7 separate regions of the Homo sapiens genome follow, and all the other regions are linked to region 7. Evidence: promoter capture Hi-C in 16 types of primary human blood cells and fetal thymus (Javierre and others, 2016). All regions are on one chromosome and are shown on one strand. The core of a region is centred on a gene start or on the middle of the fragment in contact, and the rest is flanking DNA. Distances in the headings are between cores, read along the strand shown.

What was found. The method cuts DNA at HindIII sites, captures the fragments that hold promoters and counts their contacts. A CHiCAGO score of 5 or more calls a contact.
Region 1: a fragment that was not itself captured here is called in contact with the fragment with the promoter of MSL2 in region 7 in 3 of 17 cell types (total CD8 T cells, non-activated CD4 T cells and activated CD4 T cells); the score reaches 8.0 in total CD8 T cells.
Region 2: a fragment that was not itself captured here is called in contact with the fragment with the promoter of MSL2 in region 7 in 3 of 17 cell types (total B cells, non-activated CD4 T cells and naive CD4 T cells); the score reaches 6.5 in total B cells.
Region 3: a contact is called between a fragment that was not itself captured here and the fragment with the promoter of MSL2 in region 7, in 2 of 17 cell types (non-activated CD4 T cells and naive CD8 T cells). The highest score is 6.3, in non-activated CD4 T cells.
Region 4: a contact is called between a fragment that was not itself captured here and the fragment with the promoter of MSL2 in region 7, in 2 of 17 cell types (total CD8 T cells and fetal thymus). The highest score is 9.6, in total CD8 T cells.
Region 5: a contact is called between a fragment that was not itself captured here and the fragment with the promoter of MSL2 in region 7, in 2 of 17 cell types (fetal thymus and total B cells). The highest score is 6.6, in fetal thymus.
Region 6: a contact is called between a fragment that was not itself captured here and the fragment with the promoter of MSL2 in region 7, in 1 of 17 cell types (total B cells). The highest score is 8.2, in total B cells.

The regions. Positions count from the first base shown.
Region 1 is chr3:139,340,023-139,342,722 of GRCh38, forward strand. LOC124909439 reads right to left here and starts at 851. Exons shown (of 2, transcript XM_047449421.1): 1 at 548-851. The coding sequence starts at 676. The HindIII fragment of the contact is 1,281 bases long and covers 690-1,970 here.
Region 2 is chr3:132,717,492-132,720,191 of GRCh38, forward strand. It overlaps NPHP3 (nephrocystin 3), which reads right to left. Exons shown (of 27, transcript NM_153240.5): 2 at 2,214-2,339; 3 at 1,503-1,653. NPHP3-ACAD11 (NPHP3-ACAD11 readthrough (NMD candidate)) reads right to left here. Exons shown (of 45, transcript NR_037804.1): 2 at 2,214-2,339; 3 at 1,503-1,653. Among named protein-coding and RNA genes, the nearest start is that of NPHP3-AS1, 2.9 kb to the right of the region's middle. The HindIII fragment of the contact is 846 bases long and covers 836-1,681 here.
Region 3 is chr3:140,944,078-140,946,777 of GRCh38, forward strand. All of the region lies in intron 1 of SLC25A36 (solute carrier family 25 member 36), which reads left to right. Among named protein-coding and RNA genes, the nearest start is that of SLC25A36, 3.6 kb to the left of the region's middle. The HindIII fragment of the contact is 4,988 bases long and covers 1-2,700 here.
Region 4 is chr3:139,390,993-139,393,692 of GRCh38, forward strand. All of the region lies in intron 1 of COPB2-DT (COPB2 divergent transcript), which reads left to right. Among named protein-coding and RNA genes, the nearest start is that of COPB2-DT, 2.5 kb to the left of the region's middle. The HindIII fragment of the contact is 933 bases long and covers 974-1,906 here.
Region 5 is chr3:132,414,490-132,417,352 of GRCh38, forward strand. No RefSeq gene overlaps it. Among named protein-coding and RNA genes, the nearest start is that of DNAJC13, 1.6 kb to the right of the region's middle. RefSeq lists a silencer at 2,703-2,802. The HindIII fragment of the contact is 2,653 bases long and covers 1-2,629 here.
Region 6 is chr3:132,662,111-132,664,810 of GRCh38, forward strand. All of the region lies in intron 1 of UBA5 (ubiquitin like modifier activating enzyme 5), which reads left to right. All of the region lies in intron 26 of NPHP3-ACAD11 (NPHP3-ACAD11 readthrough (NMD candidate)), which reads right to left. Among named protein-coding and RNA genes, the nearest start is that of UBA5, 3.1 kb to the left of the region's middle. The HindIII fragment of the contact is 4,577 bases long and covers 1-2,700 here.
Region 7 is chr3:136,194,971-136,197,670 of GRCh38, forward strand. MSL2 (MSL complex subunit 2) reads right to left here and starts at 1,365. Exons shown (of 2, transcript NM_018133.4): 1 at 2-1,365. The coding sequence starts at 143. RefSeq lists enhancers at 153-222, 273-322, 322-1,068, 373-442, 1,069-1,815 and 2 more and a silencer at 783-1,172. The HindIII fragment of the contact is 2,546 bases long and covers 1-2,445 here.

The DNA of each region.
Region 1 (2,700 bases), core at 80-2,579, 3.1 Mb after region 7:
CCTCTTCTGCACTGCTACTGACTGTCCCACTGCTCAGCAGGTTGCATCCCAGCCATGTGCCCAGCCCCAGCAGATACTTCAAACTGCTCATTCCTATAGCTCCCAACACAACCGTACCTCTTCTCGACCAATGATTTTGCTTTCCAGTGCTCAGAAAAAGGGACAGAGAGGCAGGAAGGCTCTCTGATTCTCTCCCCAAAACGTATCCACTCTAACCATCCTTAACTCCTGGCCTACTGGTGCAAAGGCTCCTTTGCATCTACTACCAATGCCTCCACTTAGAATCTTCATCCCCTGAAGCTTCCTCAGGGATCCACAACATCACTTGTCCCTTCTCGTTACTGGATCTTTGGTTTTTTCCTTGCTACCAGTCCCTTCTCAGCACACAAAGGGGAATTTCGGCCATGGAATTTGTGTCTCTGTAGGAACATGTAAGAGGTTTGGACTTTGAATAGGGGCCAGAAGAATAAAAACTCTGGGTGAAGTCAAAAGTGGGGTGGATGTGGACCTTTTGGGAGGCCTCAAGGATAGGGAATTGAAGACTTACAGAAGTCACATGAGTGTGGTTGCTGGAGACCGCAGGGGTTCTTGCGTTGTCCAGACTGTCACCTTTCTTCCTTGGGCTCTGTTCTTCCTCTCTCCATTCCTCTCCCTGACTTTTATCCCCTAACCCCATCTTGACTTCTAAAAGCTTAGGATAAAATATATCTTTTAAAAAACAGAAGTCCAGACCCTGTTAAATCACTGAGAGTGGGATAAGGCACTCCCCACTGAGGCATCACTATACTTTTGTTTTACAAATAATAGAAAACCATGCTTGCTCCACAGAGCTGGTGAAGATATGACCTAATGAATCCTAACAGTAGCTGCAGCCAGATAGCCTTGGGACTGTCAGTCAGAGGGCCAACCCTCCCCAACCCCCAGTGGTGAACAGAACCCCACCCAGGCCAATCAGCCTCTCTCACCAGGAACTTAGATTGGATGGAAGGCAGGGAGTTGGAACCAAGCCATTAGGACTGCAACCTCCTGGAGAGATCTCTTGAGTTCCTGCCTCTGGGGTTCTTGGAGCTGCCATCTTTCAAGTCCTTCCTGAGGCTTGGCTGTTGAGCTTTTTCTTGAATTCTGTGAGATATTCAGTATCCTTCCAATTACTCCCATTTCAGTTTTACTCAGGAAAGATTTGTTTCTTGCAACCAGAGTACTTCTGAATACCATCCTCAGAAAGTAACTGACTTGGGTGCCATGGCTCATGCCTGCAATTCCAGCACTTTGGTAGGCTGAGGCGGGCAGATCACTTGAGCCCAGGAGTTCAAGACCAGCCTGGACAACACAAAAATTAGCTGGGCATGGTGGTGTGCACCTGTAGTCCTAGCTACTTGGGAGGCTAAGGTGGGAGGATTGCTTGAGCCCAGGAGGCAGAGGTTGCAGTGAGCTGAGATCATGCTACTGCACTCCAGCCATGGTGACAAAGTAAGAAAGACCCTGTCTCAAAAGAAAAAAAAAAACGGAAAAGAAAAAAAGAAAGTAATTGACTTGCCACCACACAACCTTCTCACACCATCTTTATGAAACACCAGACATCAGATCCTGAAAGTACTTTATTCTCAAAGTTTGCAAGATAAGTATTGTCATTATGCCCATTTTGCAGGTGAGGTACTGGGGCTCTGAAAGATGTGGGCATCTGCCTGAGGTTATAGCTTAAACCAGGAATCTTCATTACTCCATATCAGTAAAACTCACTGTACCCCAAGTAAAAGAGGTCATTGAAAGGAAAGTGGGAAGCTCTCTGGCCAAGACACCACCTTTCTCCATCTCTCTCCGTACATATTCTCCCATCTCTGCTTCTGAGGATCTGCTCCATTTTCCTGCCTCTCTCTGCAGAGTGGCTTTTCCCTGCTCACTCATCAGTGAGCACATTGCTGAAAAAGGCTGCTTCAGCCCAAACCCTAAATACTTAGTTATTCACTTCAAGCTTCCACCGTCGACTATTCTATGTCTCATAGTTTGAATTATTGAGAAAAAATCTGCTTGGTGCCTGGTCATCTGGGGTAGGCTGAAGAATGCCCCCATACTTCCTCCCAAGTATAACTGCACTCTAATCCATGGAACTTGTGGATGTTACCTTATATGGAAACATGGTCTTTGCAGATGTGATTAAGTTAAAGATTTTAAAATGGGGATTATCTTGGATTATCAGGGTGGGTCAGTGATTATGCAATCACATACATCCTTATAAGAAGAAAACAGAGGAAGATTTGGCACAAATAGAAGAAGAGAAGCTGATGTGAAGATGGAGGCAGAGATTGAAATGATGCAGCCACAGGCAAAGGAATGTTTACAGTCATCAGAAACTGGAAGAGACAAGGGGCAGATTCTTCTCCAGAGATAGACTCTAAGGGGAGCAGAGCTCCCTTGATTTCAGCTCAGTAATACTGATTTCAGATTTCTCATGCGGAATTGTGAAAGAATACATTTTTGTTATTTTAAACCATAATATTTGTGGTAGTTTGTTATAGCAGCCACAGGAAACTAATGCTAATACAGCAGCCAATGGATTCATTCATCCTGCACTAAGTGTCCAATCAGCTGTGTCCAGGAGGATGTTTACAGGAAAAACATAGCCACTGAGGCCTGCTCCCTCAGCTATGGGAAGAAAGTAGAGGGTTCATTTTCAGAGAAAAGGCATGGGCTGGGAGACAC
Region 2 (2,700 bases), core at 9-2,508, 3.5 Mb before region 7:
TAAATCTCTGGCAAAACTGAGCTTACTATTTGTAGCTCTTTGAATCTCACATGGGTGACATTCCCCCTCAAGTGTTCCTTCTTCATGTTTAAAACAAAAATGAAAAAAGACCTAGAAAGGAATTTGTTTCTAACTTGCCAAGACAATTACAATAGTTTTGAAACACTGTACATTTGAGTATGTCAATACTGAAATAATCACTAAGACTTGTGTTGGGGTATAAAAGAGCATTTTCTCAGCTACTCTTGGCCATTAAGAATCTTTTTTTTTTTTTTTTTTTTTTTTTGAGATGAGTCTGGCTCTGTTGCCACACTGGAGTGCGGTGGCGCGATCTTGGCTCACTGCAACCTCCACCTCCTGGGTTCAAGTGATTTTCCTGCCTCAGCCTCCCGAGTAGCTGGGACTACAGGCACGCACCACCATGCCCAGCTAATTTTTGTATTTAGTAGAGACGGGGTTTCACCATGTTGGCCAGGATGGTCTTGATCTTTTGACCTCGTGATCCGCCCGCCTTGGCCTCCCAAAGTGCTGGTATTACAGGCATAAGCCACCGTGCCCGGCCTTCATTTTTTTTCCTTAAAAGTTAGCAATAAAAATTCCAGGATGTTGGTCAGATTCCAATGATACTACAATGAAAATTAAGAAGGAACTGTCAGTTACCATATTTTACTCCAAAATGCATCCATTTGTGAGAATATACTTACAGTTCATTACAAATGGGAGAGTGACTACATTTTTCCACTGCATTTTAAAATAGAATATTTTTCTTTTTTCAGTATCAATCACACTTTAACATTTTCTTAGAATATGTAAACCCTTTCACTCTGTGATTTCAAGCTTTTATTTCCAGAAAACATGTTTCATTTGTTTAATTATAAAACAAATACTTTTTGAATAGTTCACAAGGCTATACTGGAAACCACTCAGTGAACTATAAGGCAAGTATTCTAAATGATAGTTGCAAAGAATACATCATTATGTAAAGAAATAACATTGCAGAGACTAGTAACTCCAATATCCATTCTCCTCTTCTTTCTTCAGTAACAGAACACTACATTTTAGTTGGACACATGTCTGCCTGGCTGCTGATTACACTATCCAGTCTTCCCAGTTATAGTTCTGACTAATGGGATTTGAGAAGTGATCTTAGGTTGTACCTTCTGGGAAAGGAACGTGTTCTCCCCTTCCTTCTTTCCCTTGGCTAAAATGCAGATGTGCTGGTGGGAGCTGGGGTAGATATCTTAGACTAGAGAGTAAAAGTTATGGGTTAGGGTTGGCAGAGTGACAAGGTAGAAGGAACTTCAGTCCCCAAATTCATACACTTCGTGGAGAAGAGGTGTCTTAGCAGCTGACAGAGAGAACACACGACACTATTTGCAACAGTAGTTAAAGCAATAACCTAATATAGATAAGTAAAAGAAATCTAGCAGAATTCAAAGTTGGCTCTACATGTCATTACAGCCATGTTGAAAGCTCAAAATATAAATAGGATATACACTTACCAGTGACATCTGTACAGTTGTCATCTGAATCAGACTCCCCAGGATCAAATACTTGGATACCCTGAGCCTGTAGCCTCTGAAGTTTGCTCTCCAACTCCCTCTTGGCCCTCAGTAAGTCCTGAATTTCATTTTCTTTGGTCTCCCTAAAAATCTTTAAAAAGAATAATTTTAATGTTGAAAGCTTTTTCATAATCAAAAAGTTGTGTCATCAACTTTAAGGGAAAAATATTTCATTCATAAAACCAATATTCATTTGGTCCTCGATTTCCTCTTTCATAGGGTGAATGTCCTAGTACCTTTACCTTACTGTTTTGCAACTGGAAGCCACTGGAATTCCAGCAGGATGCGTGTCTGTGGTGTGGGTCTGTCATGTGCACTGCATGATGTTTAGGAAATTTGTCTCTCTCCCACTAAATACCAATAATACAACATCCCTAAACATTTCCAAATGCTTTTCCCCATATGGAAACGCTTTCCTTTTTTTCGAAATTACTATTAAAATGTTCACTTTCATACGTTTTTCTTTGAAATGATCTCAAGTTTACCACGTCCAACTCAAAAATGTGAAAGTGCTCTACACTAATTCTTACAACTTTCCTGAATCCTACATGACTTACTTCTATTTATTCATCGCATTATATATTATATATACTTTTAGAATATACTATTTTATTCTATGTTGCTTTGGGGGTAAAAATGTAAGGAATTTACCTTGAATTGCCTTTTAACTTTATCTCTGTCATGTTCAAATGTTGCTGCTCTCTCCATTGCTTGGTATTTCGCTTCTAAAGCACTTTCTTTTTCTCGAAGTATCTTCTGATACGTTTTTTGAAGTGCCTAGAATAATTTACCTTGTTATTTCCTAACAAAAATAGTCTTGCTCCTCAATTTTACATTCTTATATATATACATATATATATATATATGTTACGTATCTTAGAATTTTAAGTCTACTTATTATTTTACCAATTATCAGGAACTTCATGTTGCCATTTTATTCAAAACATGATGGAAAAAAACCGCAACCATGCTTGAACTACCACAAATAAAGACCAACATTAAGCTTTCAATGGAAATTAACTTTTTTTGAAACACTGCATCAGCTCTTAAACTTCCTTATGCCTTTTCCATCTTTGTGATAGTAAAAATTACATTTTGTAAGGCTTAACTTGAAGGATAAGTAGTTCTAAGAGACTGT
Region 3 (2,700 bases), core at 25-2,524, 4.7 Mb after region 7:
TTTATATGTGGTTACATAAGTGAGTTCAGTAAAACACACCTTATCTTTTTAAAGGAAGCCCAGTATATTTTAAAAGAACCAAGAGTAACCTTTCACAGAGTATTTAATCTTAGGCAAGGGTTTTCCGAATATGGAGCCTTTAAGTTGTTTTTCTGATAAGTAGAATTGTAATATTCAAATATGTTTATCGGAATCCCACATTTCTAATAGCCTAGTAGCTGTATTGTTAAACACCAGCACTGGACCTTGGTTCTGGGTGAAATACTCACATGCATAACTCGTGCTTTCTTTAAGACACCCTTTGATCCCATTATGCTTTTGCCAGAGTTAATATTCAGAGTTTGTAAGGTCAGTAGTTAGGTTAATTGAGTTAAGGAACGATATCATGACAGCCTGTAAAAAAGGTGTAAATGTGATTTAATTTTAGCTGTACCTCTAATGTATGTATATAGAGATGAAAGCACTATTAAATGTATTTTTAAAGACTGATAGAATTGTACATTGTCTAGTTATTGTATCAGCTGCATATATCTACAGAGGCAGCTCATTTTTTTTCTATTTGAGGGAGATATTGTCTCAAATAGGAGCTATATACCTTAAGATTTTAAGTGGATGAAGTATTTTCTTTGCAGCTCTTATGACAGATAATTTAATATATGTAGTGAGTAAAATCAAAGATGATCTAAGAACTGTCTATTTTTATATCCTGGAGCTCATTCATTTGCTCAATCATTATTATTTATTCAGTAGGAAATTCCCATTTGGGTATAATGAACGATATTTGTTAAATTATTTCACCTGTTTGCTTGAAGATCAGGGCAGAAGTAGAATACTTAAAAGTATAATTAATGTGATTTATTTCCGCTTCACTCTGACCATATTTTTATTAGTCTCATTTCCTTAATTTTTACTACCTCTCCTTTTCCTCTGTCTTGCTCTGTTTAAGCTGCTATTACAAAATACCAAAAACTGGTGGCTTATAAATAACAAATATTTCTAACAGTCCTGAAGGCTGGGAAGTTCAAAATTAAAGCAGTAACAGGTTTTTTGATGATGGTCTACTTCCTCATAGAAGATACTCTCTTGCTGTATCCTCACGTAGTAGGAGAGGCTAGCCAAGATCTCTGGTGTCTTATAAAGGTACTAATCCCAAATGTCAGGGCTACAATCTCATGACCTAATCACCTTGAAAGCGTCTACCTCCTAATACTATCACCTTGGGATGTGAGTAGGATTTCATCTTACTAGTTTTGGGGGAGACAAACATTCAGACATCCTCCTTCCCTTTTTTTCCTTCTAAAAATGCATTCCGTTCTTCTTACTAATAGACTGCAAAACTAAGGGAAGTTTCTTATCCTGTTGGAGAATATTCTCAAATCATTTTTCTATAAATGAATTACTGTAGCACAGCAGCTACCATTTTTCTGCAAATGGATTAGTGTAGCACAACATTGTGGGTCAGGGATTCTCCTTCTTGAGACCCTTGTTGTGGTCTGAGAGTTTAAAACTATTTTCATAAAAATACATTATTGGCACAAATTTGTTGACATTTGTCCTGATGGTGCAAAAGCAATGATGGGTAAAACTGCTGATGCCTTAGCATGCATGAAGGCAGTGGCACCAGACTGTAGTCATCGTATTCACCTCCAGGTACTTGCAATTAAAAAAAAAAAAAAAAGCCAGTTTAACCTAAGAATGCTCATGAAGGAGTAAAAATACTAATTTTATTAAATCACAACCTTTGAATACCTCTATATTTAATATTTTGTGTGACAAAATGGGAAATAGACATGAAGTAACTGTATGCCGAAGTGTGGTTCTGCGTTGTTTCAATTGCAGGCTACACTAGCTTCTTTTTTTCATGGAGTCAGCCATGGGTAAAAAAGTCATTCAGATTTTAAAATAGACCAGTGGATTTTAATATAACAGTATGAAAAGTTTACTGGTATAGTTCAGATTCTACATTTCAGCTAACCTTTAAGAACCTACCACTTGTCTGGTTGTAATATAGTATTGAAGAATATCGACAACCGGACAGCAAGACAAGGGACTGTCTTGTCTAGTAATTGTTATCATTAACTAGAAGGCATTAAGTGCTGTGGGAAAAAAAATGGTGCACCTTAAAGGACTGTGGTAGGAGTGCACTCTAGTACTAAATCGAATGATGATGAATCTTACTGAGATGACATTTGAGTAAAGACTTGGAAGGGAGAGAATTAGCTATACAAAAGGAACTAGCCCCAGTAAGACCCTAGCCCTGGTAAGAGTGAGATAATGAAGCAGGTATGGCCAGAATGATAGAGCCTTCTTAAGCCTTTAAAGGACTTTGACCTTTTCTATTGAAATGGGAGGAGTCATAGAATTTTTAAAGGCTAATTGGTCTCTGCTAGACTATGCGTGGGACAGGGGCAGAAGTAGGGAGTTGATCAGGCTATTTCAATAATCCACTTGACTGATAATGGTGATTCAGACTAGGTTGGAAGCAATGGACATTGTGAGAAGTGGTTGAATTCTAGTTAGACTTCGAAGGTAAAGATAATAAGATTTTTGACATATTGAATGCAGAGTGTAGAAGAAGAGCGAAGAATAACTCCAGGGTTTTTAGTTTGGGCACCTGGAAGGGTGGAATTGCTGTCAACTGAGATGGGCAAGATTGCAGATGGAACAGAGTTGGGGTGAGGGGAGATCAGAAGCTCCATT
Region 4 (2,700 bases), core at 190-2,689, 3.2 Mb after region 7:
AAGTCTTTTCAGACCTCCAGATTTTCAGAAAGGCAAAAAGAAAAATTATGTATTTGTGTGTGTAGATAATGATAATCAGAGGGAGATGATTTTGCACGAAATTATTTGGCTTTAGTAGGAGCCTTGAGCTAATGTGACTCTCTTCATGGGCCTCAGTTTTCATCATCTTAAAAAAAATCCAGCTACATGGTTTCTAAAGATCCTTCCATTTTTTTTTTTTTTATGTTTCTGTGGCATTCAATAGTGGAAAAAAGAGTCTGGAACTGGAGTTTAGTGCCAGCAGTGTGATCTTATGTAAATTGAGACTAATAATTCTAGTAATTGCATACTTTGCTTACTCTATGGAGTGACTGAGGATCCTGAGTTGAAAAAATTATATGAACTATACCTAATTTGCTTGAATAGTGGAACTTTCAATATTTCTAACTCCTGAATACTCTTGCACTTGAGAGAGTATTTTTGGATTTGGCACAGTACTAAGTGATACAAAATAAAATGATGTATCTCTATTGTCAAGGGGCTCAGCTGGGAATGCTTAAATCTTTGTATACCACTGGGCCACCTAAGGGTCTACCTAGCTGGTGTTGCGGGCCTGAACCCTCAAGTGTCATTCTTACTTGGACTATATCTTTTCTCATGTTTTCCACTGCAATTAGCCAAAATTAAGTCCTGCAATTGTAGACTGTAAATTCACTCTTTTAACCATTACATACTGAATGTGTACTATATACAAAGCACTATACTAGGTGCTGCCTTAAGATATTACCCATAGAATTTGGTGTTGGATTTTGGTTGAAATAAATTTTAAAGAAATAAAATTCTTAAATAGGAACTAATACATAACATTAAATATACACGTGTATTTCACTAGGCGTTCGACTGTGGGTTTAAATTAAAATCTTTTGTTTACTTGGTTTAGAGGAGACTGGAAGGTTAGGAAAAATAACCGTTGGGAAGAAAAGAAATATAGACAAGCTTAGCAGATTGGTAAAGGGTTTCCCAAGAGGTTGACTGCAATCGATTAACAGATCTTAAAGTCTTACCTAGTCAATTTCTATAATAGCTATTTCAGCCCTGCCTTTTTGCAGCAGCTGGGAGAATTCCAAGTGGGAATTCAGGTTGCAGTGCCTCTGTAAGTACCCTATATACACTGTTCCCTTCCCACCCTATTCCTACCTCTTCATAAGAAGTTGAGGAAAATAATTCGTTGAGAAAGAGTCAGGGTTTTTTGTTTATTATTTTATTTTATTTGTATTTATTTATTTATCTTGAGATGGTGTCTCACATTGTCACCCAGGCTGGAGTGCAGTGGCGCCATCTCAGCTCACTGCAACCTCCACCTCCCGGGTTCAAGCGATTCCCCTGCCTCAGTCTCCCCAGTAGCTGGGACTACGGGTGCACGCCACCACGCCTGGCTGATTTTTGTAGTTTTAGAAGAGATGGGATTTCACCATGTTGGCCAGGCTGATCTTGAACTCCTGACCCCAGGTGATCTGCCTGCGTTGCCTCCCAAAGTGCTGGGATTACAGGCTTGAGCCACCACACCCAGCCTTGTTTATTATTTTTAAATATACATGTGTTATCACTTAGCTAAGTGGTAAGTACTAGCACGAATAGGAACCTAGTTTCTCCCTTCAAAGGGGTTACAATTTATAAGCAGGAAAGGTTATTTATGCACAAATAATTGAATACCAGGCAGAATATGAGTACCTTCTGAGAGAAGTACCAGTAAAATACTCTGAAGATAAAATATCCAGCTAGGGAGATAAGTTTCATAAAGGAGGTAGAATCTGAGGTGGACTTTGAGGTGAAGAGTATACGGCATGTTTGAGAACCAAAAAAGGTCCAATTTGTTTGGAGAATGGTATTCATTTAGAAGAGCAGTGAGGGAGAAGGTTGAAGAGGAAGCTTGGGGCTAGAACCTGAAGATTTTTAAATCGGGAGAAATTGAGCTTTGAGTCAAGCAGTTGGGACTTACTGGGCCAGATAGGAAACCTGTTTATATCTGTACTCTAGATGATTTGTCTTTTGTTGATGTGTATGACACACTAAAAGAAGTTGAAACAGACTATATAAGTTTGGTGGAAGTGAGTGTGGAAATAACAGTAATAAGGAAAAATTTTTATTAAATGCCCACTATGTACCTACCTGCCATTGGAATATGTACTTTGCATACTGCAATTCATAAAGTAATACTAAAAGATAGGCATTATTTTCTCCAATTTATAGATGAAAAACAGAGGCTTAAATTGATTAAGTAGTATACCTCATGCCACATTGCTCATGACTGACAGACCTGAGATATGAACCTAAGTTATATTTAATGATACTAACATCTTTTTTTACTGGATTGTAATTTCTCCTTTTTTCCCTGAGAAGCTAGAATCAACTGGATACACAAATGCGTTTGTTGAATTGAGGGAGTGGGAGGCATCCTATTGCTGATGTTTTTAATCTAATGAACCCAGAAGAATATCTTTAATCAGAGGAAGATGTGGAGCCAGTGAATGATAGTGGAGCCAATGAAGGAACAATCAGAGAAAGAGAATCAGGAAAGAAGAAAAAGTGAAAGAAAAAGAAGTGGAGTCAGTGTAGGAACAATCAGAATAAGAGACCCAGAATAACTTTATGTCACAGAAGGAAAAGAAAGGGAAAATGTGACTGGGTGACTAGCATCTTGATAGCTTTAGAGAATTTAAG
Region 5 (2,863 bases), core at 53-2,552, 3.8 Mb before region 7:
ATACTTTTTTTTTTTTTGAGAGTTTCACTCTTGTTGCCCAGGCTGGAGTGCAGTGGCACCATCTCGGCTCACTGCAACCTCCCCCTCCCAGGTTCAAGTGATTCTCCTGCCTCAGCATCCCGAATAGCTGGGATTACAGGTATGCACCACCAGGCCCGCCTAATTTTTTTATATTTAGTAGAGACGGGGTTTCATCATGTTGGCCAAGCTGGTCTCAAACTCCTGACCTCAGGTGATCCACCCGCCTCAGCCTCCCAAAGTGCTGGGACTACAGGCGTGAGCCACCGTGCCCGGCCTAAATATTTTTTTCTTTTAACACGTGTAATCAATATAAAAATTGCTAATGCAACATTTTACATTTTTTTGTAACAATTTTAATTTTTATTCTGTGTTCAGTAGCCACATAGGGCTAGTGGCTACTGTACTGAAAACATAGTTCAAGCATTGTTGAGTGGTATGAGTTCTTAAGGATTTACTTTGGATCTGGGCATTGATATAATTAGGAAGGTCAATTTAGCAGCAATGGGAATTAGATAAGCAAGTGTTTGACATTCTTGTGGGCTCTCTAAAGTCTTAGATCACTCCAGCCTTGTATGCTAACTTTGGAGACTGATAAAGGCTATTGGTGCCTAAAAGGCTGTGAAATGTATTTTTTAAAAAGCTGTGAAATATTTTAAGTGTACATCACATAATTTAGATTGTAAATTTGATACATCTGCACTATGAAAGTGTCAGAAACGCTAGTGCAAACTTTAATTATGAATAAAAAGACAAATCCAGAAAAAGAAGTGTGCATTTGTCACTCTTAAAAAAGAGTTGGGTGGGGAAAGGATCCAACTGATTTAACCTAATAGGGAAAGAAGAGACAAGTCCTACTCTCCCTGACTCTTGTATTTTGTTGTGGCATTTTAAGAAGGATCCAATTGTATGGATCCAATTAAAAGCAACCAGTGGTTGTGAAAAGGCTTGAAACTACATCTTGTGAACAATGGTTGAAAGTACTTTGAATATGGTTTCTTAAAATGAGTATCTGTAGCAGGGGTAGTTAGAAGGATATGCACGGGAGAGGGAGTGGGAAAGGGTGATAAGCTGTACTGATAAGTGCTTAAATGAATGTCACATACAAGAAGAAAAGAGCAAGAAACAAAGACAAAATAACTACTCATAGAAGAGAGTGCAAGTTGGCTGAATACAAGGAAAATGGCTTATAAAAATGCAATGGAAAAAGATGTCTTGTGAGGCAATTTTGCACTACAGAGGATGGGGACAATTCATGATGCCTAAGGCTCCTCTCAACACGAGAATTGATTTTATTGGTCTCAAATATTGAACAGAGAGGCAGTGTGGAGGTTGAACAGTTCACTGGCCTTGATGTTACAGGCAGGCCCTGTGTCTTAATCTTGGCTCAACCTTTAGGAGTTAGGTCACCTTTAGCAAGTCTCCTGGACTCTCTGGGTCTGCTGCTTCTCTAAAATCGAAATAATATACCCCACATTTACTTTTGGGATTACTGGAAGGCTTTGTAACCACATAAACACGTTTCTGTTTCCATGGGATAAGCCAATAAGGCCCCTTAACACAGCCCTCCTGTTTCTTTTTCCTCCTCCTCCCTTCCTACTCTATTTCGGGTTCTGTCTTCCCACACCCAGCTATTCCTAGTACCTTCCCTTACATGCACCTTATCTTACTGCTGCATTACAGAAAAGTCTAAGGATAAACACAAATAGTCTTTTTCCGCCCTAAGGTAGGGCAAAGGGTTAATAGAATCAAGAGGTAAAGTCTGTAAAAACCATTTTTCCACATTTTTTCATCCTGCAATCGCTGTCTATAAAATGAGCCAACTTGCTGAAGGGGACGCCAAGAAATCACAATTTCAGGACTGCCATGAAGAATGAGTATTCAACTCCTTATCAGAGACCTTTAACCCTTATACAATAATGTATCCATGCAGGTCACCCTACACTGCCTCTACTCTGAAGTCTGCAGCAGAATCACTATTTTTTTTTTAATCACTAATTTTTAAACTGTGGTCTTTACGGCTCAGATCTGGGAGTGGACATTGACCTTTCTTATTTAAACCATTGCCCACAGATAACACATAATTTCTAGCCGAATCCTTTAGTCCCAATATCCCCTCTTTTCACTGCCCTGACTTCCCTCTCAGGTGAGGTTCAGGAAGATGGTTATCTAGAGGGCACAGGTTCTGGGTTCAAATTACTTGGGTGCAAACATGAAATCCACTACTCTGAGGCTGGGCCTCAACTTATCTGCAAAACGAGGATGATTCGTATCTCAGAGAGTTGAAGATTAAGCAGCTTTAAGTAAACTTCTAAACACTTGATCCGGACACAATAAATGGGGCTACCAGAACTATCTTTCCAGCATTCCCACCTGCAAATGCCTTAGGCGTCTCTGAGAATTTGGTCTCTGAGACCTTCCAGAGCATCCATAACTTAAACCCTGCTCTGCTGTCGTTCAGGACGTCTCAATAGTAAATGAACCTGCTGGCTCCCAATCCAGCCAAACCAGGAGATAGGCTGAGGCTTCAGACTGCCTCGCAGATGCTCCATGGCACTTGACGGCAAGAGCTAAAAAGAGGTGATTTAAAACAAGATTTCCTCGGACTTAAAGCTTAAGTACCGGGTTGCGACCCTACTCTCCGCAGGACATAAGCGGAGGGGCGCGGCCCTAAGGCACACGCCGGAGGGGCGTGGTCATGGGCACCCGCCGGAGGGGCGTGGTCATGGGCACCCGCGCGCGCCCAGGGGCGTGTCCTTTTCAGCACCCACCGAGGCGCCAGCCCCCTGACGCGCTGCGTGGAATCCAAATCCCACGGCCGGTGTCGTTACTCTGCGCATGTGTA
Region 6 (2,700 bases), core at 143-2,642, 3.5 Mb before region 7:
CCTTGACATTGTAATTATAACAAAACTTTCAGAACTCAAGTCTAAATATGTAGTATTTTCTATCTGATTTGCACCATTGACTTTATTAAAATTGCTATACAGGAGATGGCAGTTTGATACCCAAAGCTGTTCACTGATATATGGAATTTTAATAAAGTTCAGCTTTAATTTTTTGAATTGTTCATACAGCAAATATTTACTGAGTACATTTTTGTCTCCAGTCCTCCTTGACAATATTATTTACTTTGTATTGAGTACTTATTGTGTGCAGACACTGTGAATATAAAGTAGACATGGTCTTTTCCCTCTAGAGCTTACCAGATGAGTGTGAGATAAATAGAAAAGTAAACATGCCATTGCAGTACAGGTGATAAGAATTATGATAAAGTACAGTGTTATTATTGATAAAGTACAGGTTATTGAATTATGATAAAGTACAAAAGGTTATAGGAAAGGGATATGTATGTGTTCAACACCATTTTAATTGCTTCAAGAGATACAAAAGAAATATAAAGCACCTGACTTTTGCTTCAGTTTGAGAGACTACATGGAGGTGGGATATTAAAAAACACAAGTAACCGTAAAATTATGTGTTATGGAATATAGTTATAAGCATGTGGAAAAATTGGAGAGGCTTTGAGATTAGAAAACCTGGTATCAAATCCTGGCTCAGAAACCCAGCTCAGAATACCACTTGCCAGTTAGCTGATTTTGGGCAGTTGATTAACCCAAACCGTTTCCCTCATCTGTAAAAGGGGGTTGCCATCCATGCTTCTCAGATTATTTAAAGATTGAAGGGAGCATCAAGGTAAGGATAGCAAATTCCTGTGATGGATCTGCCATCACTTTCTACCCAACCTCACTAAAGTGACAGTAAAGGAATTTTTTAAAAGAAACTCCCATTGAAAATATAAAGGGTTCGTATTAATAACTGATAGGGAGGGGTGGGTCCCTGTACTTGATTATAGTAACAATTTGGAAACTAGAGAAGGGATGGGTGAAGGTAACTGATTTAATAGATTCAGAGAAGTTTAATCTTAAGCTCGCAACCCAGTTTATTGCAAGAATCCCCCAAAAGGCTCAGGAATAGGCACAGGTACTTGCAGAACTTCAGGTAGGGCTAAAAAAAACTTTCAGTTGAAAATCTGTTGAAGAAACAAAAGCCCCAGATCCCCTACTCCACTGTGGGTAACTGGGCAAACACTCCTTCCCTACCAGAAGAGGAGAGTAGAGATTTCTTCATTAGAAAGAGTAAAATAGAAGATTTCCAAGAATAATTGGGGCAGGTCTTTGTACCTGAAGGAAGGGGTAAACTGATTGTTTACATGCTGAATGCTGTGACTGAATGTAAACTAAATGCTTACATACTGAGTGTCGAGACTCCCAGCCTTGCTTCTTCACTTCCAACAGCTGATCGTGGGGTTGGAACTCCAACTCAGGTTGGAGTTTGAAAGATTATTCTCTAGGGAATCTGATAGAGCCAAGAGGAAAGACTGAAAGACACTGACATTGTGGGTTTCTCAACTAAATAGTCTGGCCAGATGACCCTACAGTGAAGTCCAAAGTCAAACAGTTATTGCCTATATTGTTACCTTTATTAGTGTCCCACACTTAAATATGAACAGAACAAAGGATGAAAGAAACTTCTAACATGAAAGAAATAAAAATAGCAACTTGGATAGACTATGTAAGATAAACACATCCCCCTAAATTATCATTAGTATCCTTAGATGAGAGAAGATATGGTACAAATGATACAGGAACAAGGTGCAAAGTATTTAGATGATCAGGAATTCTTGCAAATGGAGATGGTAATAGAAATGAAAATCTTAATAGAAGTGTTGGAAAATAAAGTTGAAAGAAATCATCCAGAGAATAGAGCAGAAAACTAAAATAGTAGATAACTGGAGAAAGAAGATAAAGGACAAATCCAGATGGTTCAACTTCCAAATAATAGGAGTTCCAGATAGTCCAGGAAAAACAAACCAAACAAGGAAGTAACCAGATTCTTCAAGGACATTTCCCAGAACTGAAAATGTGAGTTTTCATTTTGAAAGAGTCCACTAAAAACTCAGCACAAGGGATGAGAACAGATTCACATTAAGGCACACTGTGAAATTTTACAAGCTAGGAGACACTGGAGCAATACCTTAAAATGTTGAAAGACAATTCTAACTTTAGACTTCTTTACCAAGTTAAACTATCGATTAAGAGTATATGTGTAGCTTCCCACAATTATATGCCCTTTGCTTTGTCATTTTTATAAAGAATATAATTTTGATAAGGAACATTTTCAGAAATGAAAGTTCTCAAAATTTACCTTTGCCGTACCCTTTGCAAAACTACTGGAAGATGTTCTTCTAACCACAGCAAGAGAGTAAGTTTAAAAATAATTGATGACAGTGTTTTAAACTGTCATGTGCATCAGAATTACTGGAGGGCTTGTTAAAGCAAATTGTTGGACTCCACATTCAAGATTTCTGATTCAGTGGGTGATTATAGGGTAGGGCCTAAGAAATTGCATTTCTATTAAATTCTCAGGTGGTCCTGTTGTTGATCCATAGACACTTTAGAACTAGTGAGCTATAGCATACAGGAAACAGTGGATTAATACAGAATAAAGAAATTAAGAGACTTTGTAGTATAATGATGAAGGAAGAGCCTAGGAAGGGAGCTGTATGTGCAGTAAGTCTAGAGACA
Region 7 (2,700 bases), core at 115-2,614:
CCGCAAACACAGCACGAAAGGGACTGTCGGAAGTAAGGCAAGAGCCTGTTAATCTCAGTAAACGCCTTGGGGTCTCCGGGGTCGTAGTTGAGCACTAGGCGGCTCGCGGAAATGTAGAGAGCAGTAGCATTCACGGGGTTCATTGCAGACACTTCGACACCAATGGCTCCCGGTTGAAAAGAAATTCCGGATCCAACTTAGTAAGCAGCCAGGGAACGATGGCGAATTTGCAACAATTCGGAAGAAATCAGAGCCGAACCATTGGCCAAACAAGTAACCAAAATCCGTGCAAGTTTGTGGAGCTGAAACAATCCTCCCACACATGGGGCCTTGGCGCCCCTCCGTCCCTGAGACTTCCAGACCAAAAATATGAGAGAGAAACCAGCGTTCGAGTTCGTCCGGAGCGACCACAGAGCGCAGAACGCGGCGGCTTGGGCGCTCGGGGCGGGACTCGGAGCTCAGTCTAGCCCCGCGGCTCGGCAGGCGGCCTGCACTCGAGCTCCATCTCCGGACACGGAGGCGCCTCCTCAAGTCGAGCTGGCAGGCGCGGGAGCAGGCCCCGGCCCCGTCTGAGGCGCGGCACGCTTCTCCCGGGCTGCAGGGCCTCTTACTCCATCCCAGTACAGGGCGCGGAGGCGGCGGCGACGGCAAGGACGACGGTCGGGCAGCGGCTTCCCGGATCTAGTGCAAGACGCCGCGGCGGCGACGAAGGTTGATGTTGCGGCTGGCGGACGCCGCCGCCGCGCTCTCCATATCGGACGCGGGGCCCAGACTGCGCCCTGGCTCTCCGCCCCGTGGGTTGCAGCCCGCAGTTCCCCGAGGTGGCGAGGCGGGCGGGAGTCCTCAACCCGGAGGGGAAGGCCGGGGAGGAAGTGCGCGGGCCGCCGCCGGCGGGCGGGAGGGGGCGGGGGGCAAGCCCGGCCGGGCCGCGGCGGCGCCCCTCGCGCCTCAGTCGCACACTCCGGGGTCACCAGACTCAAGCGCCGCCCCCTCACTGCCCGGCCATTTTTTCGGCGCCACACACACAGACGACTCCTCCGCCGAGCACGACGGCCGCCGCCGCCCTCAGCACTCCCCGGCCGCGGAAGGCAAGCGCTCACACCGCCAGGCCCCGCCGCCGCCCAGCGCACACAGCAAGGCCCCGCCGCAGGCCCCTCCCCCGTGCCTCGCCGCCCTCACCCCGACTCCACGCGCCACTCCAGCTCGGTAGGGCCCGGGCTGCTGCGGCCTTAATGGATCCCGCGGGCTGTGTGGCGCCTCAGGCCTCTGCTGGCGGCGACGACGACCGTTACCCCAACGGGCAAAGCCACTGTCATCCCCGAGACTCCCCCGCCGCCGTCGTCGCTAGCGCTCGCACGCATGCGCAGAGCACACTCTCACCCCTCCCCCCTTTCCTCTCCCTTCGCTTCCCTTTTCCCTTGCTTCTCCTCTAACAACCCCCTCCACAGCCTCCCAGAGCTACCGGCTCACTCCACGCATGCGCAAGCTGCTACCTAGCTCCGCCGCCTTTCGCCCTTCCGCGTGCGCTTTGACCGCCCACCCAGAAAACCGGATAAACACATCAGCCTGCTCGCGCCAGTCCCTCACCGCTGCCAACCCACCCTGGGCTCACTGCGCATGCCTGGCTCTCCACTTCGACTCTCAGAATGGAGCATGCTCTCTGCGAGCCGACAGCTCTCTTCGCCCCTCCCCCACGTGCTCTCAAATTCCCTCTCCCAGGCATGTGGGCTGTGGTGAAACATTCGTTAGCTGGCACATCCTTCCCCAGTGTGGGCTGCAGGCTTCCCGCATTACACTGCTTCTGTGCCCGCCAACGCCGGGGCCCGACTTGGTAGCGCCATGTGGCGCTCTGCACTGGCCTGAACGCGGCCTCTCGTCCTGACTGACCGCGGTGTGAGGAAATAGCCGCGCCAGGCCCCAAGCCCCGCCCTCGCGGCCTTTCTCCTGGAACCGCTCATCCCGACCGCGGAAAGGGCGCAGCCTCGGCTGGCTGGCAGGCTCTCGCCGAGCCGGGAAGGCTGCAGTAGTCAACGTGGCTGCGCGCCCAGCAGGCGTGCGGACGGCTTTTGCCGGGTCGGGGCCGCGTTCCGCACCTCTCTGCGGTGGTTCGCAGTCAGAGGGCTCTAAGGCCCTGGCAGGCTGTATGTAAGCGTGGAGGCTCGAACCCACTGCCCCCTCCTACCCGTCGGACCCGCGCTGTTCCCACGGCCTCTGGCCCTTGGACTCGTGCGGCCTCACCTTCATGGGTGCCGATCAGGACTTCACCGAGCTCTCACCGGAACAGAGTCCTGTTTTAAAAACAAAACGAACTCCTTTTTTTTTTTTTTGAAAGACCTAGCTTTTTTAAAAGACCTAGCTCTTCTGTGTGAACAGATGTCTTGAAGAATGCGTGATCTTGCTCTAGAACAAACCCAAATCCTTGCAAATGTTTTGTTTTTTAAAACAAGCTTTTGCCTTTTGTTTTTGCAGGAGATCAAGGGCACTGGGATATAAATAAACAAAAGCCTGACTTAGTAGATGACTTCCCTCCCATCTCAAAGTACAAAACCTTTTTTTGAGTAGCACAAATAGTAACAGGCCATAGGAAGCATTTCTTATCTCTGTACACACCAAAGCTCCTCAGCATAATTTTTCATGCACAGTAGGTACTCTATACGTTTGCAAAGTGAAAATTATGATGCGTGTAAATCTATTGTGGCA